Linked DNA regions of Homo sapiens: all the other regions are linked to region 1. Evidence: promoter capture Hi-C in 16 types of primary human blood cells and fetal thymus (Javierre and others, 2016). All regions are on one chromosome and are shown on one strand. Each heading gives the region's core, a stretch centred on a gene start or on the middle of the fragment in contact. The rest is flanking DNA. Distances are from core to core; before and after follow the strand shown.

Region 1 (4,371 bases), core at 1,206-3,705:
TCTTTATTTTAAATAGCCATAAGCCCAATTGAAATTTAAGGAATCTCTTACTGAGAAAGAGGAAAACAGATGTGATAAGTAAACAGAAGTGTCTGCCCAACCAGTCGGCAACTAAAGGCTTCAGCAAAACATTTCCTAATGGGAAGGATGGTCAGACTCAAACAGCAATAAGATATAATTTTACTTGCATCAGCTGGCAAAATATAAAAGGCCCAACACCAAGTCATAGGAGGATGTAGAAAAATGGAAATGCTCATAACTGCTGTTGGGAGTGTAAATTACTATAAGCCCTTTGGAGAGCAATTTGCTTAGAGCAATTGCTTACAACAATTCCTGAGAAAGTTGAAGATGTTTATACCTATAATCCAGAGCTCTACTTCTAGAGAAAGCCTCACACATGCACTCAAGAAGACAAGTATAAGGGCCAGGCACGGTGGCTCACGCCTGTAATCCCAGCGCTTTGGGAGGCCGAGACGGGTGTATCACCTGAGGTTGGGAGTTCAAGACCAGCCTGACCAATATGGTGAAACCTTGTCTCTACTAAAAATACAAAATAAATAAATAAATAAAAAATTAGCCGGCCTGTGGTGGCGTGCGACTGTAATCCCAGCTATTTAGGAGGCTGAGGCGGGAGAATTGTTTGAACCCGAGAGGTCGAGGCGATTCTCCCTGCCTCAGCCTCCCGAGTAGCTGGGATTATAGGCACCTGCCACCATATCCGGCTAATTTTTGTATTTTTAGTAGAGATGGGGATTCACCGTGTTAGCCAGGCTGGTCGAGAACTCCTGACCTCAGGTGATCTGCCCGCCTCGGCCTCCCAAAGTGCTGGGGTTACAGGCGTGAGCCATCGCGCTTGGCCGTGAGTGACTTTTAAAAAATGAAAAGACTCCATCAAATCCTCCCTGACCCCAGTTTCCTCTGTTGTGAGCAGTAGAGAAAGGTAAGATTCCAAAATTCCTATTTTTCCACCATACTGGGTTGAAGGGATCTGTGGAGCCACCCTCTGGTAGAGGTAGAACCTTCGAAAAGGGCATTTTTAATCCACAGGGACTCCTCGAGCTCGGCTGGACCTCCGTGGTGCCGTGCTGTGAGACCATCCATCACTCAGGCACTCAGCGAGCCCACATCGGCCCCCAAGAACCCTGATGAAGGTCTTCCTGCCCCCTAGACAGACTTGGGGAGACGGACACCCCAAAAGCGAGAGCTCTTTGAGGTCAAACAGGTGCTCAGGAGCAGGGGTACAAGCAGGCCATCATCTTTTAGTGCTGTGAGGAGGAGTGGGGGGATGAGATGGGGACGCAGGAGGCTGCTCGGCTCCAGAGCCTGCTCCACGGTGGAAGGTGGAGGAGAGTCCAGGGTCCCACGGTCAGTCCCTGCGTGGCCCAGGAAGGTTTAATTCTTTTAAAGAGGAACACTGGACACTTCCCGATATTTTCTTGGTCCCCAGCTCAGGCCGACCCAAGTTCTTGCCTTCCGCCTAGGGAAGACAGGGGAGGACGACGCCATCTTTGGTCTCAGGGCCCAGGTGCGAAGGTCGTTTGGCACCATCTCTCCTGCCTGCCAGATGTGGGCAGGGCCCGTCCGGTTCTTCCCCTTTGCTCTCTCGGCCGTTTCCCCTACACCCGCAGGCCTTCCACAGCTTTTTGAACTGAGGCCCAGGGCCTCGCAGGGGATCTCGAAGGAGCAGCAACTGCACGGTGCTCCTCAGATCCGCGTGCCCGAGGTCACCGGGGAACAAAGAAGTTACTTATTTTTCCTTTTAGCTCAGATGAAGAGAGAGGGCGTTGTCTTCCACAGAAAAACGCTGCGAACTCCGCCCCCGTCCCCCTTTTTCTTGCAGCCCTTCCGTGCGGGTGCAGCTGTTTAAACTAAGGCCCCAAGTCTCCAGCACTTTGTGGAGTGCAGGAAGAACGCGAGCGTACGGGAGAATCTGGGCCGGCGGGGCGCAGCGAGCCGCATCGCAGCTGGAGGACAGCCGGGGTGTGTCTGTGTGTGTTTGCCCGTCGGTTGAAGGCCCCATCGCCCCCGGGTCCCCGCCCTGCCCCAGAAAGCGTTCCCCAAGAGAGCTAGGAGTCCTGCGCACCTGGAGCGCGCTCCGCGTCCACGCCCAGAGGGCGCTGCACACTCGCGCCCGAGGACTGCCTGCCCCCCTTCAGCCCCTCTCCCGGGCTGCGCCTCCGCACTCCGGGCCCGGGCAGAAGGGGGTGCGCCTCGGCCCCACCACCCAGGGAGCAGCCGAGCTGAAAGGCCGGGAACCGCGGCTTGCGGGGACCACAGCTCCCGAAAGCGACGTTCGGCCACCGGAGGAGCGGGAGCCAAGCAGGCAAGAACCTTAGGAGCGGGCCGGGGGTGGGGCGTTCCGAAGGGGCCGGGAGGGGTGGCTGGGGGGCGGGGTCCTGGGGGGTGTGGACTGGGGCTGGCCGGGAGACCTGGCGGAGCTGGGGGTGGGGGGCCAGTTTTTGCAACGGCTAAGGAAGGGCCTGTGGGTTTATTATAAGGCGGAGCTCGGCGGGAGAGGTGCGGGCCGAATCCGAGCCGAGCGGAGAGGAATCCGGCAGTAGAGAGCGGACTCCAGCCGGCGGACCCTGCAGCCCTCGCCTGGGACAGCGGCGCGCTGGGCAGGCGCCCAAGAGAGCATCGAGCAGCGGAACCCGCGAAGCCGGCCCGCAGCCGCGACCCGCGCAGCCTGCCGCTCTCCCGCCGCCGGTCCGGGCAGCATGAGGCGCGCGGCGCTCTGGCTCTGGCTGTGCGCGCTGGCGCTGAGCCTGCAGCCGGCCCTGCCGGTGAGTGCGGCCGGCGGCCAGGCGGGGAGGCGGCGGGAAGCCGGGACTGGTCACCCGCGGATGCCGGCGGGTGCACGTGGAGGGGGAGGGGGAGCGAAGACTTCCCTTCTTCCCGCGCTAGCCCAGCGGGTCCCGGGACGGTGAGCCCCGAGACCAGGGCTCCAGCCCCAATTTCCTCCGCTGTCGGTGGGTGCCGCACCGGTCCCGCGCTGGGGAGGGTGGGGGGCCGGGGCCCCGCGCTCAATTATGTAAAACGTCTCCACATCTGTCGGAGCCCGCCAGCCCACAGCGGCGCCCGGGGTCGCCCGTTCCCACCCTCCTCGCCCCGGCCACCGCGGCGGCCGGGCCCCCGTCGGTGACCCGGGGGGATGCAGTGACCGCGGCCACAACGCCCCCCCTGCAGACCCTAATTCAAACCAGACCCGCGGGCTTGCGCCCCAGCGCCGCCGAGCCCGGGCGCCCCGCCCCTTGCGCCAGGGCAAGTTTGGGCGCAGCGCGGCCGGCGCGGGAGCGGGAGGCGGCCGCGTTGGCCCGGGGAGCCGGGCCAGGGCTGCGTGGGGGGCGCGGGCGAGCGTCTGCAGGGCCCTCGGGCTTGCCGTGGGCGGCTCGAGGTGAGCTGAGCCGGCCCGGCAGCGGGAGGTTCCGGGAAGTTGGCCTCGGAACGCTGGAGACCCGGAGGAGCCCAACTTCTGGGCTGCTGAAGTTGAGCTGGCCCCGGAGGGCGCGTTCCCGTGCCGGGCACGGCCGAGGCGCAGGCGCCTTCCACGCGAGGGGACCCGGGAATGGCCTCCCGCTCCCCGGCTCGGCTTTGTGCTGAAGCCGCGCGGAGGGAAGGCGGGTCCCTTGGCCCGCCCAGTGCAGCTGGGAGAAAAGAGGGGCAGATGTGGAGCTCGGGGCTGTAAGAGGCCTTTGGGTGGGATGCAGCATCCACCTTCAGCGGGGCTGACGCTCCACTAAAGAGGGACGTGGCCGACAAAGAGCAGCCTGAGGGTCCCCAGAAAGTGGCTCTCCCGCCCCGGCCACCGGCCGCTAGCCCGCCTTCCCCAATGGGGGCGCTTTGTTCTCGGCCCCTGTAACCCTTTCCTGGGAACAGCCCCGTAACGCCGGCCTTGACGGGGGCTGGGACCTGGGCCGCAGCCAGGTGTCAGCGCGGGCCGCCCGGTGCCCGAGTCTGCCGCCCGAGTTCGCCTCCCCAGCCCCCGCGCCCGGTGCTGGCGTCCCGGGGTCCCTCCTGCGGGCCGGCTCGGCCATCCCCAGGGATGCAGAGGGGAGGTGCGGAGCCAGGGGCGCTTCCCCTTCCGGAAGTGGCGGTGTCTCGCCACTACATCTGGACAGTTCGACTTCCCCAGCTCTGGCAAAGGGAGGCACGTGGGCAGGGAAGGGGCGGGGGCGGGGTGGGCACTCGGGTTCTCCACTGCTAATGTGGCATCTGGACAAGTCTCAGCAGCGCTGACCCTCCGTAAGCGTTGCCTCGTGTAGTAGCTGCCAGTTATTGAGCGCTTTGGTTTTTTTTTTCTTTACAGAGTCTGTCTCATGGGAGATGAGGTAGGGACAGTCGTTTCTGAGACCGATGTGTAAAGCGCCCTCC
Region 2 (4,371 bases), core at 699-3,198, 460 kb before region 1:
TGGGAGTTGAACAATGAGAACACATGGACACAGGGAGGGGAACATCACACACCGGGGCCTGTTAGGGGATGGGGGGTAGGGGAGGGATAGCATTAGGAGAAATACCTAATGTAGATGACGGGTTGATGGGTACAGCAAACCACCGTGGCACGTGTATACCTATGTAACAAACCTGCACACTCTGCACATGTCCCAGAATTTGAAGTATAATTAAAAAAAAAAAAAAAAAAAAAAAAAGGAAACCTCCATGAAGCAATTCAGAGTAAGTCTGCCACTTGAGGTTTACTTGTTCATAATTTACTCTCTGGAGTACTATGTTAAATTTTTTCCTCTATAAAGTGTTTTTAACTAACCATCTAAATATTGGTTAAGGCATCATGTTATTGTAATGAAGGCCATTGTTTTCGTAAGATCAGTCTCATCTGTCCCATATTCAGGTCATGGATTTAATAATTGATACACTCAAACTATCCAGTGAGCAATAACGCCTGCTTCCCTGCACTCTCCTCCCCCAGCACTTGATCACCTCCAATCCTTCTTCTCGTTGTGGCCAGAGTGGTTTTCCTGACATAGGGACCTCAGCATGTCACTTCACTGTGCAGTCTTTTTTGCCTTGTGGACTTCGGGATAAAGCGCAACCTCCTTGGCATGCATAGAAGATGCTGTCCATGACCTCATCCCTCTCTGCCTCTCCAGTCTTATCTCCCACCACCCTATATTCCAGCCATGTGGAATTCCAGTTCCCCACACATGCCATGCTCTTTCAAGCTTTGGTTTGCTTGGTCTTCTCCCCACAGTGTGCTGCCCCAGCTTGAAGACTCAACTGAGGCATCAACTCTGGGGAATCTTTCCTGCCTACTACTTCTGACCAGCTGCACCTCACCTGAGCTCTCAAATTGTCTTGTATACATGGGGTCCCCTTCTCCCCTCCCCCCAAGACTGTCTTATCTCTATTTTCCAGGTTCCTAATACAAAGTAGGTGCTCCATTTGTATTTGATGAACAAAGGAATGAGTAAGCAATTCAGTGTCTGAATGAAGGAGCACATTTGGTATATTAGGGAAGCTGCAAGTGACTACAGCTGGCCAACTAGGGGCTGGAGCTAGGCATAGCTCTGTCTTTCAGTGATAACAGAGGTCAAAGGATCCTTAAGATTTAGTTCTTGGTTTTTGTAGAAATTGCCACTATCTGTTCTTCTGAATATAAGATGTTGCTTTGTTGCCTTTATTTTTAGAACTAACAGAACTAGAACATAGCAGTTTTTCAGTGAAACACAGCAGCCTAGAGCAATATACATATATATCACATGCAGGTTTAGGTAGATATCCATTCAGGGTCTTAGTAATGCCACAGAGGAGGCTCTGTCTCCATTCAGCTGCTTGCTGTCAATTGAAGTATGATTATTGCACTTCCCCACTGAATCAACATACAGGCTGCATAGAGCCTTTTCTTAGAAAGGTCATAAACTCTCTCAGGATTCTGATCACATTTCATCAGCTACATTGGAAAGCCTGAGTCTATCTGATCTGTGTTTGTATTCATTCAACAAATACATCCCATATGACTACCATGTGGCTATTTGGAAACAACTAAGTTTATTAACTGGTCACTAGTCATTCAGTGACTATGTCTCAATAACTGTCTTCGTCATCCTCACCGGCCTTCATTCCAGTGTCCATCCCAACCTTAGTACACAAAACTTTCCTGGTAAGTCGTTTCAGTGAATTATGAGTGATCTATCACACAAGAGTCTCCCAGCATGGGGATCTTCCCACCAAATTCTTCTAAGTGCACTCCTGTACATCGTGAAGCCTTGCTGCCTTGAGAGAGCCACACTCTGGAGAGAGCTTAGGGACTAGCTCCCAGGGTCAGGCGTAGGTGCTGTCCTCAGAGCACTGCCGGCTGCTGGTGTCATATCTGTGTCAGGAAGGGAACGTGTTTTCTAATAAAAGGTTTTTGTCTTGTCTTTCAGCTTACATTTTATTATGGTACTATAGATCCTTGGTGTCCAAAAGAGTACTATGAAGACATTAAGAAGGATTTTCCAGAAGGAGACATTCGACTCTGTGAGAAAAACATACCTCATGCTTTCATCACCCATTTTAACCAGGAAATGGCAGACATGATTGCTGACTCCCTAAAGGATGACTTGTCCAAAATGTAAATTGGCCTGAGGAACAAGCCCCCACTGCCAGTACATGGAGGCAGTCAGTGTACTAGACTTAGTAGGTAAATGTTTAATTTTGAAGACTGATATTAGAAATGAAGAAAGTGAGAACCTTTGTCTTACAAACCAACTCTCCGCTCGCCATGTTATAGGCTGAAGTAAACACAGTTGATGAATCATTCCATAGGTTTAACCATACATTTTCCAAGACTCAGGGAACACAGTGATCTACACAGAGTCTTGTGTTTGCACAAGATGCCCAGTGGCACCATATGGTTTATTTTGGTAGGCAGGATCTTTGCAGATGAAAAAAAAATCTACATGTACTTGATTTTAATTGAGTTACATTGTAGAATAGGCTCCTCTGGAGGAAATTATGAAATACCTACTAGAAAATGTAAAATAAATCAGTGAATGTTAAGAGTATAGTTAGATATGTGAAGTGTATGAGATTATGACAAGGATACACTCATGTTCCAGGAGCAGGAAGTGAACCTGGGTCTCCTGTAAGACAGAAGATGAAGATGAGCCCAGGCTAACTTAGCACAGATCTTGGCTGAGATCATCAATGTGACGTCTAATGTACCTGCACTAGACAGAGAATAAAGTTCACCAGACATTACTCTGGTCAGCTAACCAGATAAAGAATTGTTGAAGGACCCCAACTGTGCCTCCTGCCACAGGACAACCAGCAAGTTCTATGCTGAGCCTTAGCCTCCCAGGTTATAAGCTCCCTGCAGGCTCCTCCTCTCCAGAGCCAGGATGGAGAGGCACTGGGCTGTCCCAAAGCAGGCTTGGATGTGCCAACGTACAGTTGCTCCTTCTGTAATTCTTGCACTAAAACTCCATTAAAGACCATCAATGAGCCAAATAGTGTGCTAGCCATTGAGGATGGAGTTCTTAGCTACTTAATGATTCTTTTCTTCTGGAAATCTTCTAGTGAATAATTTTTAAAAGCTTCTTTTAAACTGCTCAGTAAAACATTGCCATACATTAACTCTCCATTTCTGCATTAACTTCATTTGCTGGAAAGAAATTATTTTGTTAATGAACCAAACCCAGCCATTAAGTTATGTGAATTCACCTTCTCTAGACACATTGAGGTATGGCAGAGAAGACACATATTCCCTGGCCTAGAGTGGGCTGACAATATTGCTGCCTCCCCTAAATTGACTCAATCTTGAGAACCACATACTGCAGTGACAGTTGATCATGGATCAGAAATATTCCTTTTTCTCCTAGAGGAAATCCCTCATGGCATTATCATTCCCTAAGGACAATGAGATGTCCCTCCGCTCAAATCCTAAAGCCCCCTGATGAAAGATTTGGCTCTGATTTGCTGCCAACTTATTGGTAAGTGCTGAATGAGTTACTGTGCTTTGGCATAGCTTCTACATCACAGCAAGTGACTTCTCAGAGGGGAAAAGCCAAGCTCCAGACAAGGAGTGCTGTTAGCCCAAGGGGAAGAGCTAATAGATACATAGGCCGTAAGCACAGGGCTGTACACAGATCCTTTATTGGCATCTGCATGAGAGGCCTAGAAATCGGATGTTAGAAGCTAGGAATCATGGCTCTGAGCGCCTTGCATACAGGAGATACTCACTGATACTAAATCAAGGCATGTAAACAATACTGGGTAAATCATACCTACCAGAATAAAGAGTAACATTCAGAGCTTTTCTTTTATCTGTTATTTTAAATGTTACTCCATATTTCAAAAGTCTGCACGTATGAAATTGTGTCTTATTTCTGGTTTTTAGAGCCTAAGAAAGATACTCATTCTTAATTCCTATTTATCATCTGAAAACCAAATGAATTTTTGAAATAAATGTTTTACCAGCATTTCTGACCTGGTCTGGCCTGATCTCTGTGTTGGGCAAGAGAGGGTACAATTTGAGCAGTTCTCCTGAGTTAGACTCGGCTCAAAGTCTCTCTTTTAAAGTGAAAAGCCACCTTTCTCATTGCTTTTTTCATAGGTGGAAGAATCAGATTTCAAGAGACTGAAGTTCATTCTGTTTCATTAGGGATTAGACTAAAATGGACAAACAGTGGAAGAAATCCATTTTCCAGAAGCAGCTCTGCCTGTATGTCCCAGTCAACCACATGGATGGTCTTTGTGAAAGTTTTAACTTCCTGCAGAGTTACCGAGTGCTCAGCGATTGAGCTTTGACCACACCCGTGTTTGTTCCTAGTCTGTTCCCAGCC
Region 3 (4,371 bases), core at 1,139-3,638, 410 kb before region 1:
GGAGGAGGAGGAGGCGCTGGACCCTCTGGGCATTATGCGGTTGGTCTCCTGTTGTTGAGAGGGCCCCTTTGGTGTATTCCAGGCTTTCTGGAGATGACGTCCCCCTTCCCTGGAATCTGAGAAAAGCCCTGAGCATCCCAGGTCGCCCCCTCGCAGGGATCTGGGCCACGAGGCCTTGGCCTGGTGTGTTGGGGGAAGTAGCTCTCTGCGTGCCCTTGGTGGTGTGCATGTCTCTGGGACTGGGCTTAGGTGTCGCCTCCCTTCTCGGGTCACAGGATGTCCTCCACTTGTGGCTCCGCACTGGGGCTTGGTAGAGTCCTCCGTGACAGCTCAGTAGTGCAGGCTGCGGGCCTGTCCGGCTAGTGTGGGAGGACTGGGTGCTCCTTCCAGCTGTGGGACTCGCAGAGGTGGCTGCGGCTCTCTGGGCTGCATCATCTGCATAGCAGGAGCATTCACCTTGGCCCTGCCTCCACACAGGGCCATTCACCAGCCATACATCTCTGGCCATTTACAATCTCTTTTCTTCGGTTTTCCTCAGTGAAAATGGACTCATGGTCGTATCAACCTCTTAGGGCTCCTGTGACGATGAACTGAGTTATGTAAATTTAGCAATCAGCTACCATCATGGCCCCATCTTTCAGTGGAATCAGACCAGGCCAGGGGTGCTGTCCTCCCCGCTCTCTACCACAACGAATGTCTCTTAGCCGTTTACCAAAGCCCTCGGGCGCCAGATGAGTGTAGGTCCTGCCGCAGAAAGGAATTAGAGCCCAGTAGAAATTAGGCAGAAGCAAGTTCAACTTCATCAGCATGTAGAATTCTCTCCTAAAATCACAGCCCACTCTGGAAAGGCCTTCTTCGTGGGGAGGGTTATGGGAGGGTGGGCTGCAGGGTGGCCATGAGACCAGCGTCCAGGGGTGAGGATTTGCACTGGGAAAGGGTACGCGGCGCTCAGGGAGCTGCAGCAGAAACAGGCCTGAGATCTGGGGTCCTGCGGCACCTGGGCACAGCAAGTGCCCTGCAGTCGCTCCTCCTGGCCCTCCGTGGCTGGCCTTGTCCCTGAGTGGGGTCAGCGGCCCTGAGGGAGAGGCAGCCAGAGTAGTGGGTGATATGGGGACAAGCCTGTAATAGTCACTCCTTATCAGCCTGGCCCAACGCGGCAGGCCTTTCTTGGGCTTTATTTTGGTAAGGGTGAGGCTTTGTTTGAACTCACATTCTCTGTTGTTCTGAGTAACCACACGTAGTGCCAAACCGAGATGGACTTTGGTGGTCTGTGCCAACCTTTGGCTGAAGAACACACTTAGCCGAGCGGCTCCTTTTTTGGGTAGGAAAATGTTCTTTGTGGCTGGCAAGTGCTGCCTTGAACTTCCTACTTACTTCATTAGCAGATTGTCAGGGGAGATGTGTCAGCTATCCTGGGACCCCTTGGCGGGGCGGGGGGGGCGGGGGCAGCCCCCTCCCCAGCTCTGTACTCTGGGGCCCTCACCCCTGAATCCTGGGAAAGCTTAGCACCTAAGAGTAATCCTGCCGGCTTAAGACCCTCCCCTGCTGGGGTTTCTTTTTAAGGACCCGTGTGACAAGGTGCTGATGAATCAACGTTATCACCTCTGTCAGGAATAATAAGTAAATTTTTTGAGAGTTTATGAAATGCTGGGAACTAAGTTAGCATTTGCTTGCATGATCTCATTATATCTGTAAGACAGCATTTCTGAAACTACTTGCTACAACCCATAGTAAAAACTATATGGTACGCCATGACCCAGGACACACATGTATAAACATCCCATAAAACTGAAGCAAAAGTTCCCAGAACTCATACAAAACCTTACTAAGTGTATTGTACTGGGATATTTTCTATTCTATTTCAACGTTTGGAAAGGTCATGACTCGCCAAACTGCTTTCAGGATCCACTGTGGGCACAGGTCAAGAAACGGAGCCCTGGAGGCCTGCACTGGCATCAGCCTCTTCTGTGTGGTGGGAAACTCAAGTTCAGGGTCAGGTGGTTCGTCCACGTTCCTGCAGCCTGCAGATGGCAGAGCCAGGACCCCACGCCATCTCCAGTCCAGTCTTTATCAGCCTGGGAGGTGGGCAGGGCCCCAGGATTATCCCCCTTTCACAGATGGTAAAATCGAGGAAGGAGTTGAGCAGGATCTTGGCCAGAGCCGTGTGTGTTCCAGAGCTGTGTGTGTGGCAGAGCCGTACCTTGAAGTTGGGTTTCCACCTCGGCCTTTCACAGACACCCAGGTGGGCTTGTTGATCTCTCTTGGTGCCACCCACCTGCCCTTTGGTGGGGGACTTTCTGTTCTTCTCGGGAGGCTGTTTGTGCACCCCTCTCCCTCCCGTGCGCTTGGTTCCTGTGCAGATGCAGCGGCACCCGTTTCCCAGCTTGCCCTGCCCCATGTCTGGGCTTAGCTCTGGGCTCTCCTGGAGCGGCCACCATTTCCATGCAACCAGCCTCGGTCCTTCCCCGCCGTGGCCGCGGCGAGGCGCTGCTGCTCTGCTGAAGGGCTGCTCCACGGCAGGGCTGCTGGGAGGGTGGGAGTCGCCAGCACAAAGCCGGAGCCCAGGCCGGCCTGGCTTTTCTTTGTCTTTTAAACCTGGTTTTGATTAGGGACAAGAGAGCGTTATTACACCATTAGAGAGCAATTAAAGATAGAAAAAGCCCTCACCTCGGCCCATCCCAACACCACCGCTCTCTCCATCTGCTGGGGCTCTCTTCTGACCCCGTCCCAGCAGCATCCATGCAACCGCAGGCACAATGCACGTGCCTTTTCGTACTCTGCTTTTCCACCCTATGGTCTGTCCCGATTGCTGCTCCATGTCGCCCCTGTTTTGTATTTAAGTTTCTATTTTAGAATGTCACGGTGCTGAGAAAATTGACATTCTACCCTAATAGTTCTGCCTTATGCTGGAAATCCTCTGCGGGAAACCTTTTTCATTGTGACTCAAATAACACACAATTAGTATAGAAAAATTGCAAACACAGATAAAAGTCCTTTCCCTGTGAATTTCTGAATGCACCTTTGAATATTCACATCTTACTGCCAAAATGAGATTGTCTTGTGTGCCGTTCTGGAATTTGCTTTTTTCCAGCTTACATGTTCTAGGTCCTTCCAGATCAATAGCTGCACTCTCCCTCCTTCCTCTGCTGGTTTCTCAGCTCGATGGGCTGTAAGTGGCATTACCAGGCCCTTGCTTGTGGGCGTGGCGGGGTTTTCTGTAGGTTTTTGCTATTACAGGCAATAACCTGAGGAACTTCTACATATACAAAGCTTTTATTCTATGGAGCCTTCCCCTATATACGTGCCCCAGAGCAAGGTCCCTGAAGCTGCTTCTGGGGGCTTTGGGGTACCATTCCAGTAAAAGGTTCTCTAAGGGCTGAAGCCCCTCTGTTGGGAGGCCCCTCTGCTTTTCTAAGCCCTGCCCACCCCCGCCCTCAGGGCCCACTCCTCCCACCTCTTCTTTTGCACACAGGGACCCCCTCCAGGCCCTGGGTCCCTGAGGACTCACAGCGTCCTTGGGACAGGCTGGCTCCTGTATGAACAAATGCACCTGCCTGCAAAGCTGGTCTTCCCAGACTCCCTGGAAGGGGGAGCCCACACCCGGGTCCCCGTGCTGTGGCCTCCGTGGTGAAGCTGGATGTTTCTCTGGAATGCCACGTTTTATGGTTGTTTTTTAATATGGATTTTGCTTCATCTTTCATAAAACAACCACATGTATTTTAGTATAAAAATAATATCTTACTCTATATTTGGATGAAATCACTTCTCTGGAATGATTCTGTGGTTTTGAATGCTCCTGGCACATTGCCAGGTGCTCCCAGATTTGCTAACCCAAGATTTAGCAGCAAGACAGTCCCTTAAGGTGAGCCGTGGAGGGGAGCTCTGTGGGGACAGCAGGGCCTCAGTCCCACCTCCTGAGGTGCCCTGGAGCTGCTTCCCCGAGGGTGCCTCTTGCTAAATATCCCGACCACTGCGCATGGGCCTGGCACCTCTTTGTTCATTCCAGCCTGAGCCTGGGCACCCAGGGCTCCCCTGATGCCACCAGTGCAACAGAGACCACCTAGGGATTCTGGGCCACTGAAAGCTTGGCAGAGATAGAGATTCCAGGCCCCCCTCAGATCTGGGTAGGGCCCCCAGAATCTGTGTTTTAACAAGCTCTTGAGTTGGTTCTTCCGCAAGCTCCTGTTTGAGAATTCCCAGAAACCAAATTCTGTTAAAGTGTTGGAAATGCCAGAAAGGAAACAGGTGTGGAGAGTGGCAGGTCAGCCGTCACCACAGTCTGCCGCCCACAGGGGGCTGAGGACAGGGCGTGTCCAGAAGGCACTTCCGGTACTGTCTGCTCCCCAGCAACTCCTGCTCGGGCTGGGCTTT
Region 4 (4,371 bases), core at 1,688-4,187, 320 kb after region 1:
ATGCTAAAAACTGCTATTCACAGTGACAATGTAACATGTAAGAGTATCTGTAGACATAGATATAACACCTAATATCTATGCTCGTAGCAACCACCTTTATAAAGCAGAAACTGCAGTGGATGCAACAAAATCAATAGAAATACAGTAATAATGACTTCAATGCAATGTTGTTGCAACGATCTTTTTACAGAAAACACACTTGCCACTTGATTTTTCCATATTTTTTATGTGATGAAATAGACATAGCACAAAATTTACTATCTTAATCATTTTTAAATTTTTTTTAAATTTTTTACAAGACGTGGTCTAGCTCTGTCACCCAGGCTGGAGTGCAGTGGCACAATCATAGCTCACTGCAGCCTCAAACTCCTTAGCACAGTAATCCTCCCACCTCAGCTTCCCAAAGTGCTGGCATTACAGGCATGAGATCCTGCACCTTGCCTATCTTAATCATTTTTAAGTGTACAGTTAAAGTGGCATTAACTATATTTATTAAGTACATTCATATTGTTCATATTCCACCACCACCACCACCACCACCACCACCACCACCACCACCACCACCACCATCCATCTTCAGAATTCTTTATCTTGCAAAACTGAAACTGTATGCTCATTGAACAATAACTCCCTATCCCCCTTAAAGCTGTCCCTGGCAACCACATTCTACTTTCTGTCTCTATGAATTTGACTACTCTGGGTACCTCATAAAAATAGAATCATTCAGTCTTTTTGTGGCTGGCTTAATTCACTTCATGTAATGTCCTCAAGTTTCATCCATGTTGTAGCACGTGGCAGAATTTGTTCTTTTTAAGACTGAATAATATTCCATTGTATGAGTATACCATATTTCGCTTATCCACTCATCTGTTGATAGACACTTGGATTGCTTCCACATTTTACCTAGTGTGAACAATACCGCTATGAACCTGGATGTGTAAATATCTCTTTAAGACCATGCTGTCAGATATTTTGGGTATATACTTAGAAGTGGAATTGCTGAATCAAATGGTTATTCTTAGTATTTGAAGAATTGTCACACCATGTGGTTGCACCATTTTACATTCTCACCAATAGTGCATAAAGATTCCAGTTTCTTCACATCCTCACCAACACTTATTTCTTCTTAATAGTTTCCATCCTACTGGAGTGGTGAGAAGTGGTATTTGATTGTAGTTTCAATTTGCATTTCCCTAATTATTAGTGACGTTGAGCATTTTTTCATGTTCTCATTGGCCATATGTGTATCTTCTTTAGAGAAAAGTCTATTCAAATCCTTTGCCCATTTCTGCATTGGATTGTTTTGCTTTATTGTTGTTTTTGGAAGTTCTTTATATAGTGTGGGTATTAATCCCTTATCAGATACATGACTTGTAAATATTCTGTTTTTTACTCTGATAGTGTCTTTTCATGCACAAAGGTTTTTAAATTCTTGTCAAGCCCAATTTGTGTAGTTTTTTCTTTTGTTGCCTGTGCCATTGATGTCATATTCACAAAATCATTGCCAAATTCAGTGTTGTTAAGCTTTTGCCATATGTTTTTTCCTAAGAGTTTGTAATTTTAGTTCTTATATTTAGGTCATGATCTATTTTAATTTTTGTATATGGTGTAAGAGACCAGCTTCATTCTTTTGTAGTGGATATCCAATTTTCCTAGCACCATTTGTTTAAAAAACTGTCTTTATGCCAATAACACACTTGTTTTGGGTAATGCAGCTTTGCAGTAAGTTTTGAAATCAGGAAGTGAGTCCTTAAACTTTGTTCTTTTTCCAAAATTGTTTTGGCTATTTGGGAGTCCTTGTAATTCCATATGAATTTGAGGATGGAGTTTTCTATTTCTGCAGAAACATCATTGGGATTTTGATAAGGATTCCATAGAATCTGAAGATTGATTTATATAATATTAACATCTAAACAATATTAAGTCTTCTAATCCATGTACATGAGATGTCTTTCCATTTATGTCTTCTTCAATTTCTTTTAGCAATGTTTTATAGTTTTAATTGTACACATCTTTTACTTTCTTGATTAATTCCTAAATATTTTTTTCTTTTTGATGTTACTGTAGATGGAATTGTTTTCTTTTCTTTCTTTTTTTTTTTTTTGAGACAGAGTCTTGCTCTGTTGCCCAGGCTGGAGTGCAGTGGTGCAAGGCACAATCTTGGCTCCCTGCAACCTCCACTTCCCAGGTTCAAGTGAGTCTCCTGCCTCACCCCCTGAGTAACTGGGATTACAGGTGCCTGCCACCACACCTGGCTAAATTTTGTATTTTTCGTAGATACAGGGTTTTGCCATGTTGGCCAGGCTGGTCTCGAACTCCTGACCTCAAGTGATCCATCCACCTTGGCCTCCAAAAATGTTGGGATTACAGGTGTGAGCCACTGTGCCTGGCTGGAATTGTTTTCTTAATTTCATTTTTGGATAGCTTCATTGTTAGTGAATAAAAATGCAACTGATTTTTGCATGTTGATTTCATATCCTCCTACCTTGCTGAATTCATTAGTTATAACCATTTTTTAAATGGAATCTTAAGAAGGACTGGTGTTGGTTCTTCCTTAAACATTTAGTAGAATTCATCAGTGAAGCCATCAGGTCCAGGGCTTTTCTTTGTCAAGAGGTTATTTTTAGATTACTGATTGAATCTCCTTACAAGTTACAGGTTGATATGGTTTGTGTGTGTCCTCACCCAAATCTCATCTTGAATTGTAGCTCCCATAATTCCCACATGTTGTGGGAGGGAGCCGGTGGGAGAAAAAACTGAATCATGGGGGCAGTTTCCCCCATACTGTTCTCATGGTAGTGACTAAGTCTCACAAAATCTTATGGTTTTATAAGGGATTTCCCCCTTCACTGTTCTCTCATTCTCTCTTGCCTGCTGCCATGTAAGACGTGCTGTTTGCCTTCTGCCATGATTATAAGGCCTCCCCATCCACGTGGAACTGTGAGTCCATTAAACCTCTTTTTTCTTAAAAACAAAAAAATTACCCAGTCTTGGGTACGTCTTTATTAGCAGTGTGAGAACAGACTAATACACACGTCTATTCATATTTTCTATTTCTTCATGATACAATCTTCGTAGGTTTTTTGTTTCTAGGCATTTGCTCATTTCATGTAGTTACTCCCATTTTTCAGCATACAATTGTTCATAGTACTCTCTTATAATCCTCTTTATTTCTGTAGAATTGATGGTAATGTTCCCATTTTCATTTCTGATTTTAGTAATCTGAGTCTTTTCCTTTTTCGTAGTCAATTTAGCTCAAGTTTTATTAACTTTTTTAATCTTTTTAAGAACCAACTTTTGGTTTTGTTGATTCCATTTTTGTTTTATCTGTGTTTTGATCTTTTATTATTTTCTTCCTCTGCTAGTTTTGTGTTTGCCATTTGTTCTTGATATTTAATGTTAATAAATGTTTTACTTTTTAATAAATCTGTTAATATTCCAACTGTTTTTTAATATAATTCCTTTCCTTTGTAATCCTATGTTTTAAAAACACTTGAAAACATTGAAACGACATAGGCTTCACCACACTTGTAAAGGTGCCATAGCACAAAAAAGGTTAAGAATCTTACTCCTATTTAGAAACCCCCTTCCCAAATCCCCAATTTCCATTACATATCCTGCTATTTTCCTCTTAGATCACTGGTTTTTAGACACATAAATATTCCTGTTATTCCTTGAACAGAACAAAGCAAAACTTCTAGTCAGGTGCGGTGGCTCATGCCTGTAGTCCTAGCACTTTGGGAGGCTGAGGTGGGCAGATGTCTTGAACCCAGGAGTTGGAGATCAGCCTGGACAACATGGGGAAACCCATCACCACAAAAAATACAAAAATTAGCTCACTGCCAACCACTTCCACCCAGAAGGGATTCTTGTGCCTCAGCCTCATGAGTAGCTGGGATTACAGGCACCCGCCACCACGCCCAGCTAATTTTTTGCATTTTTAGTAGAGACGGGGTTTTGCCATGTTGGCCAGGCTGTTATCAAACTCCTGTCCTCAGGTGATCTGCCCGCCTAGGCCTCCCAAAGTGCTGGGATTACAGGCATGAGCCACAGAGCCTGGCCATCTCCACTTTTTCTTATCCCCCAAAAGGATTAACATCCCTGGCTTTATGTAGAATAGTGTACGCTGCCACATCAGTGTTTGAGTCATTCCCCAGAGGAGAGGGGAATCCCCCCTCCATTTTTTTTTTTGCAACATCTTGTCTTCCCTTTGCTGTTGCTTCCCCCAACACACTTGGTTTTGTTCTATCCTGTACTTCAGATTTGTTTTTTGTTTTGTTTTTTTCATATTGAAAAGATGACATTGCTCCAAGAGGCAAAAATAAATGGGAACTGAAAAAAAAAAGCTTTTTATCTTATTTATTTAATCTT
Region 5 (4,371 bases), core at 474-2,973, 290 kb after region 1:
TAATTTTGAAATAGTGTTTTTACTATAAACTTAAAGCTTTCTTGTGTGAATTTTATGATATATGTGACTGTAAATACTTGGGTGACTGAATGGTGTAATTTTTCTCCTAGTGGAACAAAGCTGTTGAATTGGCTAAAAATCATAGTATGAAAGAAATTGGATCTCTGTTAGCTAGGTATGCATCTCATTTACTGGAAAAGAATAAAACTCTTGATGCCATAGAACTCTATCGGAAAGCCAATTACTTTTTTGATGCAGCTAAACTGATGTTTAAGGTAATGTAAAAATCTTGGTGAATAGTTGATTTGTTCCAGTCACAATATTTTAATATATGAAAGAGCATATTCTCCATTTTCTTTGGAAACAAATATTTATTACAGCAAAACCACTCTGGTTTTATTGCTTCTGTATACATTATTTTAGTATTATTGCCTTTTACCAACAAAGATGTTTATTAATATTAGCAACTTACTAATACCTAAACAATTGTATGTTGAATACTGGAGTTAACAAAGAGTTAAAGAAATTACTGAGACTGCAAAGTACAAATTTCTACAACAGGGAATTAAATTTTGTTGATAATAGAGTTTTAAGTTCTTTTAAATGTACAAGTTTTAAATATTACGCTTTACATAATATTTATTTGGAGGGAAGATAATTAGTACAGTATTAATGTATACACATTTTACCTTCTATTCTATTCCCATTTGATTTAATGAAAAAGGAAAAATATCTCTTAAAATCATTTAAATAAGTTTCAGCTTCTGAAGGATGCACCATGTTAACACTATCATATCTTTGTGTACTTGGAACATTATTTTAAAAATCTCTGTATTATGGAAAATACCAGCATTTCATCAATACTTTCTTTATTCTGATTTAGTTATCTAACAGCACCTCTCATTTTCTAAGAGTGATCTGAATTCCAACTCCTAGGGCTAAATACTAAGGAAAGAACTAAATACGAATAGGTACTAATGAAAAGAAGATAGGTTTTAAAATATTTATCTTAAATAGGTGATATTTATATTCCATCTTACTGATTTTCCTCCTTTTTTAGGGAATCAAATTTGTTAGTTTTGGAAATGATTGTATTTGTACAAATATAGATAAGAAGTAACTTCCCTCAATTTTGAAAAATGTTTAAGATTGCAGATGAAGAGGCAAAGAAAGGAAGTAAACCTTTACGTGTCAAGAAGCTCTATGTACTGTCAGCCTTACTTATAGAGCAATACCATGAACAGATGAAGAATGCCCAGCGAGGAAAAGTTAAAGGAAAAAGTTCAGAGGTAAAGTAGCACGTTAAATAACATTACATCATTGGAAGTGTTTAAGAAAAAAAAAAAAAGAAACTATTAAACTTCTTTTATGGATAGGTCATTTAATTTGCATGTCTGCATTTGTTTCCTTAAATGATATGAAGAAAAAGAATGACTGATTTAGAATTAGTATTCAAATTCAGAAATTTCTACCTAGAAATATTGAAATTGTTTTTCTGTAATACTAATCTGTAGTCTTTGCTTTAATGTCTTATTTGTTAAAAAATTTTACTTACCTGGGAAATCTTCCTTTCTAATCAGTGAGTTTTAAAACTTTCCTAGATATATTGTTGTAATGCGTAAATGAATGTCTGATTAACTTAGAATCTAATTAGTTATATTTTAAAATTTATTCATACCAGTTTAACAAACTATGAATTATAATAAAAAATTAAATCTGTTTTGGGTGCAGTGCTCACACCAGTGATCTCAGTGACTAGGGAGGCTTAGGTGGGAGGATCACTTGAGTCCATGAGTTTGAGACTGCAGTGAGCTATGACCACGCAGCTGCATTCCAGCTTGGGTGACAGAGTAATACCTCATCTCTTAAAAAAAAAAGTCTGTAATCATAGTTTTGTAATGATAAAATCTGCTCATTTAGATACTTTAATGACTGTTGTTATTTGGGAGTTGACACTGTGTGTGCGTTTGTGCTGACGGAAAGTGTGGGCTGACTTTACTCGTAGGCCACTTCTGCCTTGGCTGGTTTGCTGGAAGAAGAAGTTCTGTCTACAACAGATCGTTTCACAGATAATGCATGGAGAGGGGCAGAGGCTTACCACTTCTTTATACTTGCACAGAGGCAGCTCTATGAGGGATGTGTGGACACTGCACTGAAGACAGGTGGGCATGTCACCTAATGTGTATAGTATGTCTGAAAATTATAAATTGAGTATGAAGGGCTAGCTTCTTCAATTTGCCTTTATGTGGCCTTCAATAACATTTTTTCCTATGGATTTATTTTCCTATGTTTGAGTCTTATGCATTCCCATTTTTGAAGTTTTTTTTAATACAGAGAAAACACATAGTTCACAGAAATGTCAGAAATTTGAGATAAGCAAAAAGAATGTGTATAGCATTCATATGGCTAGCCATTCAAAGTTAAATACTTCATAGCCAAGTTCATATTTTTTGGAGAAAAATATATATACATATATCTATTAAATATATTTAATACATATATTTAAATACATAAAATATATTTAATACATACATTCAGATAATTTTATTCTTTACAATATCGGGAGTATAACATGGCATACTTTTATGTACTTTTTGAAAACCACGTTTTAAAATATTTCCATATTTTACATATACATTGCTATAGCATTTATCTTGTGTTTTATAAAAGTGATACTTAGCTAATAATTTCAACCAAAACAGAAAAATATGAAGAAAAAGTAAAATAATCTAACAATTTGTAAAATAATCCTATAACTCAGAGGTAATCATTGCTAAGGTTTGGGTAAACTTCCTTTTAGATGTTTCTACATGCAGGAGCATGGTTTTTTCCCTCAGCAGTATATTATAGTTCTTTCCTCATTCTTAAACAGAGATCTATATAAACATTCTACCTAATATTCCATGGTATTTGTATACTGTAATTGATAGAAGATTATTTACATGTAATATCAGGATCTCAATTTCTTCTTAACAATAACAATATTCTAGAATTTAGATATATGAACTCCAGAGAGTGTAATTATGATAATTATGTTGTAAGCCAAAGCATATGAATGACTAAATCATTACTGGTCTTTCAGCTTGGCCATGGCAAGCACTGTCATGACACCCCACCCTTCCTCTGTCATATTGGTGACATCATCCATTTGCTGCTCACATCATCACCATATGCACATCACACTCTAATCCTAATACATCATGAATCTGTATTCCAATGGCATGATATTAAAAGAAAACTTTTAGAGAAATTCTTTTATTTGAATATTTCTGGAATTCTATAGTGATGATTTTTATTTTTAATTATTTTTATAAGAGCTCTTTAGAGACCATATGTAATAATCGTCTTTCATATATATTGATTTTCCCTAGCATTTATAAGTTATAGTTACTTGATCCTTTCTAAGCTTCAGTTTCTCTTTGTGTAAAGAAAGGATAATAGTATCTTCCTCAGCCGGGTGCAGTGGCTCATGCCTGTAATCCCAGCACTTTGGGAGGCTGAGGCGGGTGGATCACAAGGTCAGGAGATCGAGAGCATCCCGGCTAACACGGTGAAACCCTGTCTTTACTAAAAATACAAAAAAATCAGCTGGGTGTAGTGGCAGGTGCCTGTAGTCCCAGCTACTTGGGAGGCTGAAGCAGGAGAATGGTGTGAACCTGGGAGGCGGAGCTTGCAGTGAGCCGAGATCGCACCGCTGCACTCCAGCCTGGGTGACAGAGCGAGACTCCGTCTCAAAAAAAAAAAAAAATAGTATCTTCCTCATAGAGTTATTGTAATGATTGAGAAGTTCATGAAAAGAAAACTCACTTATTATGCTGCCTGGACATTGTGAGCCCTCAATAAGTGGTAGCTGTGATGATGATATTAATAGTTTTTTTTATATAGTCATGTCTGTCAGTCTTTTACTTCATATTTTTCTCTTAGGAATCATGCTTAGGAATTCCTTCAAGTTTGTTAAATATTATGTTTATTATAACATCTAAGTTATCCTGAAACCATATATTAGGTTTATTCTTTCTTAACAGATTTGAAATTCTACCTTAATGTGCCGAGACCAGCTCAGTCAGGGAGACCCTAACCAAGCGGCGCTAGAGGAATTAAAGACACACACACAGAAATATAGAGGTGTGAAGTGGGAAATCAGGGGTCTCACAACCTTCAGAGCTGAGAGCCCCGAACAGAGATTTACCCACGTATTTATTAACAGCAAGCCAGTCATTAGCCTTGTTTCTATAGATATTCGATTAACTAAAAGTATCCCTTATGGGAAACGAAGGGATGGGCTGAAATAAAGGGATGGGTCTGGCTAGTTATCTGCAGCAGGAGCATGTCCTTAAGGCACAGATTGCTCATGCTACTGGTTGTGGTTTA
Region 6 (4,371 bases), core at 1-2,500, 280 kb after region 1:
GAAATATTGACTGCTTAGTGAATTGCATACTACGTTGTACCAGGTTAGTTATTCAATAAATGTTTGTTGAATAGTAATGATTGATTAATTTATTTTAGGGCACAAGGGATCCAATTTGTGCCATAACTGCATCAGATAAGATATTGATTGTGGTAAGTTTTGCAAAAACTTATTTTATGAATAATAATTCTTTAAATTATAAAAATATGGTAGGAGCCAGGTGTGTGCCCCATGTCTGTAATCACAGTTACTTGGGAAGCTGAAGCAGGAGGATTGCTTGAGGCCAGGAAATGGAGACCAGACTGAGAACATAGTGAAACCTTGTCTCTAAAAAAAAAAATTACAGTAAAGTTTTGAATATCATCTTATGGGCACCCCAAGTTTTACTGTACCCTTAATATAAGTTCAGTATGAGAAATAAGAAAGTTTTAAAGCTTTCCTCGCTAATAATTAACCATTTGCAAAAACAGCTATTTATGAAAGCAGTACAGGGATGACCAGCCGAGAAGACAGAGTACACTTACAGTTTCTAACACTGAGTGGAATGAGCCCTGTGGAAGATTGCATGGTGGTGGGGCAGATTGCATGGTGGTAGTAGGTATTAGAAAGTTTCCTCCTTTGTGTAGCCCGATATTTTATGTTGGAGAAAGTGCTTTGGCTCAGCCACTTTCATAAGACTTAGAATGACGAGGTAACATGTTTGCCAGCCAGTAAAATAGAGAAGCCTATGGCAAATTTCAGCTGAATTTTTCAAATAGAATCAATGGCATAGTGTCTTTTCTTGAGCTCTGAGATTTGAAAATATTAATTTTAGAAATTAATGTTTACTTTTATACAGTAATGCTGCTGGGGTTATTGCATTTGAATTATGTAAACAAAACCTTAATAGTATATATTCTAGTTCTAGTTACATTCCTCAGCCATGAGCTAATTTTATGGGGGGAAAAATCTTAAGAGCATAGTATTTCTATAGTATTCCCTCCTTTCTGATAAGCCCTCATGAGACTCATGCTGCAAAAGCAGTGGTTCTCTGATTAAAAAGAAGAGAGTTAAAGATCAGCTGTGTGGAGGCTTCCACTTTGTCCCACTGCCATGGCCTGAGGCAGCCAAGGGTTTGAAACCCACAGTTCTCTCATGGCATTATACTTACTGTTGATATGTCAACCTTAAGATTTGCCCTGAGTTGTGTACAAAATTATATGCTGCTTTATTTTTTAAACTTATTTAAACTAATATTCATAGTATCCCTGCATTCAGATCATCTTTCCTTTTGCTAAAAACTAGTATCAGATAGATGACTATAGGATAAAAACCTAGACCTTCAGTAACAGCTATATCATATGATCTTCTGTTGATTTTTCATATACATATGTAATTTAACTCAACAAGTACTTTGCTTTAGCTTTTAATGTGCCCTGAATATTAACCTAGATAACAAATATAAATAACTTTAGATTTTTTTTCCTTGTGATGTAAGAATTTGTGTATTGCCAAAGTGCTAGGTTTCTGACTTCTTTCTTGAATATTACATGAAAAAAAATTAGAATACTTCAGCTGTTTGAAAAAGGTTTAATTAAATTAGTAGGTAAATATGTACTTAAGGACATGATTCATTATCAGAATTGAGAATTTGCTGTGACATCACTTTGGTTTTAAGACAAATGTATAGACATATAGAGAAATAGTTGTAGTTTAATATTATTATGATACACGTATGCTTAAGTAATCAAAAGTAATTTCCATAGGGTCGTGAATCTGGCACCATTCAGAGATACAGTCTACCTAATGTTGGTTTGATTCAAAAATATTCCCTTAATTGTCGAGCCTACCAGTTATCCTTGAATTGCAACTCTAGGTAAGCCTGAAAACTCTGCTCATGTAGATGTTAGACTTAGAAATGATCAGTTGGGATTGTTAGATTTATATGTAATAAATGTAAAGATGGGCGTGTCTATTATGAACTTGTCTTAAAATTCAGTATGGTTTTATTTTATACTGCATTTGGTTTAAATGTTTTTAATTGGGCGTGTGGAAGTACTAGTATAATTTTTTACTCTTAAAGCTTAAAAGCATTGAGACTATTTTATATTTCATACCAATTGGTTTTGTCTCTGGATACATTTTCCTCAGAAGAGAGCAAAATAGAGAGTAGTCCATATCTTGTATCAAATTTATTTAACAAAATTTTAAGCCATTTCTACTGTATTCCAGGTTTCTGATAATCTGATTTTGAAGAAGAATGGCTATAGGTAATTATTCTCATGATTGCTGATAGTAATTTTATAGTTTTTTCCTTTTCTCTAATTGCATTGTTTTTAGCCGTCTTGCTATCATAGACATCTCAGGAGTTCTGACTTTCTTTGACTTGGATGCTCGAGTAACGGACAGTACGGGACAGCAAGTAGTTGGAGAGTTGTTAAAATTGGAACGAAGAGATGTCTGGGATATGAAGTGGGCCAAAGATAATCCTGATTTGTTTGCAATGATGGAGAAGACAAGAATGTATGTTTTCAGAAACTTGGATCCTGAGGTAAAAACAAGAAATGAGTGTTAACAGTCTATAAATAATGAGCCAAATATAAAAACCTGGATGATTCCCCTTTGTTTCTTTAAGAAGTTTGTTGAATAGCAGTGCCAACACGGCTGCATGAATTTCTGAAAATAAATAGGAACATTTCTGTGGATTTTAAAAATATTTGGTCTTAGGTGAGAAAATACTTATCTATTAAATATTCTCTACTTTCTCTGAAAGGTACTTCCTAGGCATTTATTTATCTGTTCTTTTTAAAAGGTGGAGCCATGGTCACTAGTCTTTTTTTCCCTTGTCAAACTTAAGAAAACAAAATCAGTAGCCTTATTTACCAGAATTTCTGAAAAGAACCTAATAAAAAAATATAGTTTTCAAATTTCCTTGTCCATTCATTCTTTTCTGTCTCTTTATTCACTTAATTCTGTGCTTACTTTGTCTTATTTATATTTACATTTACCATATCGTTCACAAATCTGTGTTCTTTCTTAACCCAGATATTCTTACAAATATGCAAGTGCAGGCAGGGATTAATCTCTCTTTTGGGTATGAGGAAGTCCCCTTTGTTCTCATTTTTAAGGTTACATTTTGATTTTCTGCTTGTGGCTCACATCAGCTAATTTCTATGCTCTGGATTTTCCTGTCACTTAGTCTACTCTGGCCAACTCTCAGCTGTTGTATTTAGGAAATACAAAATAATCCGAGTGGTAACCTAATCAAAACATCATTAAGAAGATAAATCTTTTAAATGACTTTTGAATTAGTAATGGATTTTCAATTTGGAATTTTCTGTACTTCTGCTGCACTCTACTCTTGTAAATAATAAGGAATAAGTTAATAAATGCTTTATATCATTAATTTCCATTTGTTTGCATGTATAGCTTCCTTCTTGGGAAGAAATTGCATGCTTGGGCCCCTGAGCTGCCAAAGGGTTTCTGGAGTAATTTATTTAGTGGTAAACTGTTTGCCCCTTTAATATCCTAAATTATTTTCACATTTCCCCATTTGAGCCCTACTCAGGAATTTTGGATGTAAAATGCCCTGATGTAAAGTGCTCTCAAAGGCTCTGTTAAAGCTTTTGCAAGTCTTAGGATCTTTGTGATTCTTCGACCCTGAGAAATAGTTCAAAGGAAAGGCATTCAGATTCAGGGCTGCTGCATTTGACCTGTAAGCATGGGCTTCTTTCAAGGGTCCAAGGGAAATTTAATCCTTGCCACAAAACAATTGTGGGAATTTGACAGGTAATCCACAGGATAACCTTGAGGATGGGAGTAGAATACTTTTTGAATGTTAGAGTCTTTTTCTATCCTTAGCCCTGCTCATACTAAATCACAAATCATATGCCTGGAGAAGGGAGAATGTTTGTTGTATCTGGCTGCTCATAATGTGTCTATAGCACACATGGTCAGTCTGGTACCAAGTGAAATCTTTGCCTGGTGGAAAGAGTTTCTTAAGTAGTTTTAACAGAACAGCCTTTTAAAAACATACTGTTTTTTAATTTGAATTTGTTTTCTGGTTTGGCATGTAGTTCGATTTCTGTTAGATTTAGAGCTAGATGGATTTCTTAAAACCTTCCCACTGTCTGGATTTCTTTATAAATGATGCTGTTCTGTTCTTTTCATTCACAAGGACACTGGCTTACTGTGGTCGCAGCTGGTTTAGCTACTCTGCTCATTTGCTTTTCTAGCTGCTTATTGATCATGTAAGAACATGATCTCTTCAAAGCAGGGAAGATCTGTTTTACATACTATTATATTTAATAGTATGTTCCTTAAGGACATAATATTCTATATTATTATTTAGGAGATAAGTTATTGTTTGACAGCTAATAACAATATATTTTT
Region 7 (4,371 bases), core at 719-3,218, 260 kb after region 1:
GTGCGATGGCTCACACCTGTAATCCCAGCACTTTGAGAGACCAAGGCGGGCGGATTACCTGAGGTCGGGAGTTCGAGATCGGCCTGGCTAACATGGTGAAACCCTGTCTCTACTAAATATACAAAATTAGCTGGGCATGGTGGCGCAAGCCTGTAAACCCAGCTACTCGGGAGGCTGAGGCAGGACAGTCGCTTGAACCCGGGAGGCAGAGGTTGCAGTGAGCCAGGATCGTGCCATTGCACTCCAACCTGGGCGAAAGTGAGACTCTGTCTCAAAAAAAAAAAATTATTTTGAAAGAACCATTAATATTACCTTCAGAGAGTTAAGAGATATTACATCCATAAAATAAGAAAAGGATACTATAGAAGAGGAAGTTTTTGGAAATTAAAAATAGGATAACCATAATGAAAACTTTGGCTGGAGGATTAGAAGGTAAAATGAAGGAAAACACTTGTAAAGTGAAGCAAAAGGACAAGGAAATGGAAAATAGGGGTGAAAAGATAAAATTAGAGGACCAGTCCGGGAAGCTTAGCATTTCAATAATATTTCTAAAAAGAGTGAACAGGCCACTTTGGGAGGCCGAGGTGGGCAGATTACCTGAGCTCAGGAGTTCGAGACCGGCCTGGGCAACACGGTGAAACCCTGTCTCTACTAAAATAGAAAAAATTAGCCGGGCGTGGCAGCGTGTGCCTGTAGTCCCAGCTACTCAGGAGGCTGAGGCAGGAGAATTGCTTGAACCCAGGACGCGGAGGTTGCGGTGGGCCGAGATCACGCCACTGCACTCCAGCCTGGGAGACAGAGTAAGACTCTGTCTCCAAAGAAAAAAAAAAAAAAAGAAAAGAAAAGAAAGAAAAAAGAAAAAAAAAGAGTGAACAGGCAAAATATACAAAATACAGGGCAGTAAGTATGAAAAAAAAATTCAAGAAAATTTTCCTTGACGTTCTGGATTGGAAGTGCCTAGCTCAGTGAATAAAAACATTTCCACATTGAGACACATCATTGTAGAATTTCAGAACATTGGGGAGAAAACAATCTTACAAGCTTTCAGGGAGGAAAAACAGATTTCATAACGTCAAGGATCATAAGTGGCATTCTATTTGTCAACAGCAATGGTTTGGAGAATTGCCTCAAAATTTGCAGGGATAGTTTTCCAACTAGAATTCCATAGCTGTAAGTCAACTACTAATTAAATATGAGGGTAGCCCAGCACTTTGGGAGGCCAAGGTGGGCAGATCACCTGAGGTTAGGAGTTTGGGACCAGCCTGGCCAACATGGCAAAACCCTATCTCTACTAAATATACAAAAATTAGCCAGGTGTGGTGGCGGGTGCCTGTAATCCCAGCTACTTGGGAAGCTGAGGCAGGAGAATCGCTTGAACCCTGAAGGCAGAGGCTGCAGTGAGCCGAGATGTGCCACTGCACTCCAGCCTGGGCGACAGAGTGAGACTCTGTCTCAAAGTAAGTAAATAAATAAATAAATAAATAAATAAATAAATGGGTGGAATACAGACATTTTTAGATGTGTAACTCACTAAAAATTTCCCTTCCAAGCTTCCCTATCTTAGGAAGTTACTTTAGGAAATAGTCTAACAAAATGAGGAATAAACCAAGAAAGCAGAAGAAACAGTAGAGTGGACACCAGTGAGGAAGAAAGTACCAGCTGACCATGGTGCAGTGTGTCCAGTGAGTCAGATGAGAGGTCAGAAGGCTCCAAGAGAAATTTAAGGGGATAACAATAGACTACCTGACATATTTGAGCCCTTGCAGCAAGATATACATAATTCAGGGATAATTGGGGATTTGTGTTAGTAATAAGCCCATAGAAGACTAATCAAAGAGAAAAAATACAATTATCGACTACAGAGAAAGCAGAATGTGCTTGAAAAGAAAATAAATCATGATACACTTGATGGCTGAGTTGTGAATAGCATTTACATAGTCAAAATGATGTAATCACCCTTTTTAAACTTAAAACACCTTTTAATTGAAGTATAATAAACATACTGAACCCTAAATTCTGATCCGACAAAATGGTATTAAAAATAGAGAGAGGGATGGAAAGGTGCCCCTGTGTGGTAGGGGTGGGGTGGAAAAGGGAATGAAAGAAAGCTAAAGACTTGTCATTTGTAGTGGGGAGGCAAGAGCTAATGGACTAAATTGAAATAAAACAAGTAGCAGTATAAACACGTTACTTAGATTTGTGGAGGTAATAGCAAAAGGATCGGTAAAGGGAGCAGGAAATGGGAACTTAGGGGGAACTGCCATTTTTTAGTAAGAAGCCTTGTGGATCTATTTGATTTTTGGAACTACTAGCATGTATAACTGATAAAAATGAAAAATATATTAAAAATACAATTTGTGGTATTTTGTGGCAGTAAATAAGCTTATTTTAAGTAGTGGAAGAGTAAATTATGATTTTTTAAAATATGATTTTTATTATTTGGTTTATATTTATGAAATTAATTCAATGAGTTCTTTTTATTTTTTTTTAAATGTTATGGGTAATAGTAGACGTATGTTATCTATGGGGTACCTGAGATGTTTTGAGTAATTAAACAAATTTTAATCGAATGCTGAAAAAAGAAAAAGTCTGTGTAAATAGCACATAAAGAACTGCTTTATTTGAAATTGTTGTTCTAGTCAGGAAAAACATCTAAGTAGAATAGTATTCTTAGTACAAGATACAGAAACAGAGACTAACAGTAAGAAAAATGAAATGATCACTTTAAAACAATGTGATGTAAAATGTGCATTACGTTTGATTATTTTCCTAATATTGGTCATTGATGATTATTTGTATATAAGCCACTTTCATTAGGTTGAGTCATGTCTTTTTTGAGTTAACTGAATTTTTCTGAATTTCTCCTGTCATTTATATATTGCTTCAAAGGAGGAGAACGAGATGGAGACATTTGGTGCAACGGTAACAAATGAAATTAGCTCTTATATAGCTGATCATAGGATAAAAATGAGTTTTGAGGTTATAGCTGATCAGAAACTGTAGCAATATGAGGGGACTTCAGAAGGTTCATGGAAAAATGGAATTAACAGATAAAAATAAAAATAGAAACTTTATTTTTCAACATAAGCTCCATCAAGGTCAAGACATTTTTGTAAGCAATGATAACAGATATTTAGTCCATCCCTAAAGAACTGAGGGTCCTGGGAATTTAACCATGTCAATGCAGTCTTTTTTACATTATTAACTAAAGATAAATGGGTACCCTTTAAGGATTTTTTAAGATTAGGAAACAAAAGGAAGTCTGGAGCCAAATCAGGACTGTAAAGTGGATGGATGCCTAATGATTTCCCGCCAAAACTCTAGCAAAATTGCCCTTGTTTGATGAATAGAATGAGCAGGAGCATTGTCATGGTGGGGAGAGACTCTGGTGAAGTTTTCCCAGGCATTTTTCTGCTAAAGCTTTGGCTGACTTTCTCAAGACATTCTCATAGTAAGTGGACATTATTGTCCTTTGGCCCTTCAGAAAGTCAACAAGCAAAATGCCTTGAGCATCCCCCAAAACTGTCGCCATGACCTTTGCTCTTGGCGGTCTGCTTTTGCTTTGACTGGACCACTTCCACCACTTGGTAACCATTGCTTTGATTGTGCTTTGCATTCAGGATCATACAGGCAAAGCCATGTTTCATCTCCTTTTGCAATTTTTGAAGAAATGCCTCAGGTTCTTGATACCACCTGTTTGAAATTTCCATTTACTGCTCTGCTCCTGTGTGCAGCTGATCTGGGTGCAACGGATTTGGCACCCATTGAGTGGAAAGTTGGCTTAACTCAAATTTTTCAGTCAGAATTGTGTGAGCTGAGCCAGTTGAGATGTCTATAGTGTTGACTATTGTTTCTGCTGTTAATTGTTAGTCCTCTTCAATTAGGGCAGAAACAAGATGAGATTCATTTTTTCCTTGCAAATTGACATGGATGGTCTGCTGTTGCAGGTTTCATCTTTACTTTGTCTTGTCCCTTCTTAAAGTGAGTTGTCCTTTTGTAGACTGCTGATTTCTTTAGGGCATTGTCCCCATAAACTTTTCATAAAGGATTGATGATTTCACCATTCTTCCACCCAAGCTGCACCATAAATTTGATGTTTTTTCTTGCTTCAATTTTAGCAGAATTAATGTTTCTTTGACAGGGCTTTTTTTCAAACTGCTGCCATCTCCTTCTTAGTGCTTCAAACTAGATCCTGTTCAAACATGTTTTAACAAGTTAGTGCACGTTTATTTTGATGCAAACAATTTTTAAATCCATGCTTATTTTTTCCATAATACACATTTTCCATAAACTTTTTGAAGACCCCTTGTATAAATGATGAAAAGTAGCCAGAGTACTTGTGTTTCTTGTGTCTTCTTAAAAACCACAGTG

Evidence for each region. The method cuts DNA at HindIII sites, captures the fragments that hold promoters and counts their contacts. A CHiCAGO score of 5 or more calls a contact.
Region 2: a contact is called between a fragment that was not itself captured here and the fragment with the promoter of SDC1 in region 1, in 1 of 17 cell types (neutrophils). The highest score is 5.2, in neutrophils.
Region 3: a contact is called between a fragment that was not itself captured here and the fragment with the promoter of SDC1 in region 1, in 3 of 17 cell types (neutrophils, non-activated CD4 T cells and erythroblasts). The highest score is 9.5, in neutrophils.
Region 4: a fragment that was not itself captured here is called in contact with the fragment with the promoter of SDC1 in region 1 in 1 of 17 cell types (M0 macrophages); the score reaches 5.2 in M0 macrophages.
Region 5: a contact is called between a fragment that was not itself captured here and the fragment with the promoter of SDC1 in region 1, in 2 of 17 cell types (M2 macrophages and M1 macrophages). The highest score is 8.2, in M2 macrophages.
Region 6: a contact is called between a fragment that was not itself captured here and the fragment with the promoter of SDC1 in region 1, in 6 of 17 cell types (M0 macrophages, M1 macrophages, M2 macrophages and 3 more). The highest score is 13.7, in M0 macrophages.
Region 7: a contact is called between a fragment that was not itself captured here and the fragment with the promoter of SDC1 in region 1, in 8 of 17 cell types (M2 macrophages, M1 macrophages, M0 macrophages and 5 more). The highest score is 16.3, in M2 macrophages.

What each region holds. Positions count from the first base shown.
Region 1 is chr2:20,223,214-20,227,584 of GRCh38, reverse strand. It overlaps SDC1 (syndecan 1), which reads left to right and starts at 2,455. Exons shown (of 5, transcript NM_002997.5): 1 at 2,455-2,783. The coding sequence starts at 2,718. RefSeq lists enhancers at 1,128-1,807, 1,808-2,487, 4,247-4,371 and silencers at 2,039-2,418, 2,479-2,898, 2,939-2,998, 3,019-3,478, 3,889-4,088. The HindIII fragment of the contact is 9,225 bases long and covers 1-4,371 here.
Region 2 is chr2:20,684,695-20,689,065 of GRCh38, reverse strand. It overlaps LDAH (lipid droplet associated hydrolase), which reads left to right. Exons shown (of 7, transcript NM_021925.4): 7 at 1,972-4,371. The coding sequence ends at 2,163. Among named protein-coding and RNA genes, the nearest start is that of GDF7, 20 kb to the right of the region's middle. The HindIII fragment of the contact is 2,355 bases long and covers 771-3,125 here.
Region 3 is chr2:20,634,104-20,638,474 of GRCh38, reverse strand. HS1BP3 (HCLS1 binding protein 3) reads left to right here. Exons shown (of 7, transcript NM_022460.4): 4 at 1-39. LOC124907740 (a long non-coding RNA gene) reads left to right here and starts at 46. Exons shown (of 2, transcript XR_007086243.1): 1 at 46-2,242; 2 at 3,473-3,759. RefSeq lists an enhancer at 2,682-2,731. The HindIII fragment of the contact is 1,769 bases long and covers 1,504-3,272 here.
Region 4 is chr2:19,903,086-19,907,456 of GRCh38, reverse strand. No RefSeq gene overlaps it. Among named protein-coding and RNA genes, the nearest start is that of TTC32, 3.3 kb to the right of the region's middle. The HindIII fragment of the contact is 2,822 bases long and covers 1,527-4,348 here.
Region 5 is chr2:19,928,187-19,932,557 of GRCh38, reverse strand. WDR35 (WD repeat domain 35) reads left to right here. Exons shown (of 27, transcript NM_020779.4): 23 at 111-275; 24 at 1,149-1,289; 25 at 2,006-2,162. Among named protein-coding and RNA genes, the nearest start is that of TTC32, 28 kb to the right of the region's middle. The HindIII fragment of the contact is 3,370 bases long and covers 39-3,408 here.
Region 6 is chr2:19,943,945-19,948,315 of GRCh38, reverse strand. WDR35 (WD repeat domain 35) reads left to right here. Exons shown (of 27, transcript NM_020779.4): 14 at 99-152; 15 at 1,746-1,855; 16 at 2,320-2,530. Among named protein-coding and RNA genes, the nearest start is that of WDR35, 44 kb to the left of the region's middle. The HindIII fragment of the contact is 1,628 bases long and covers 437-2,064 here.
Region 7 is chr2:19,960,846-19,965,216 of GRCh38, reverse strand. All of the region lies in intron 10 of WDR35 (WD repeat domain 35), which reads left to right. Among named protein-coding and RNA genes, the nearest start is that of WDR35, 27 kb to the left of the region's middle. The HindIII fragment of the contact is 832 bases long and covers 1,553-2,384 here.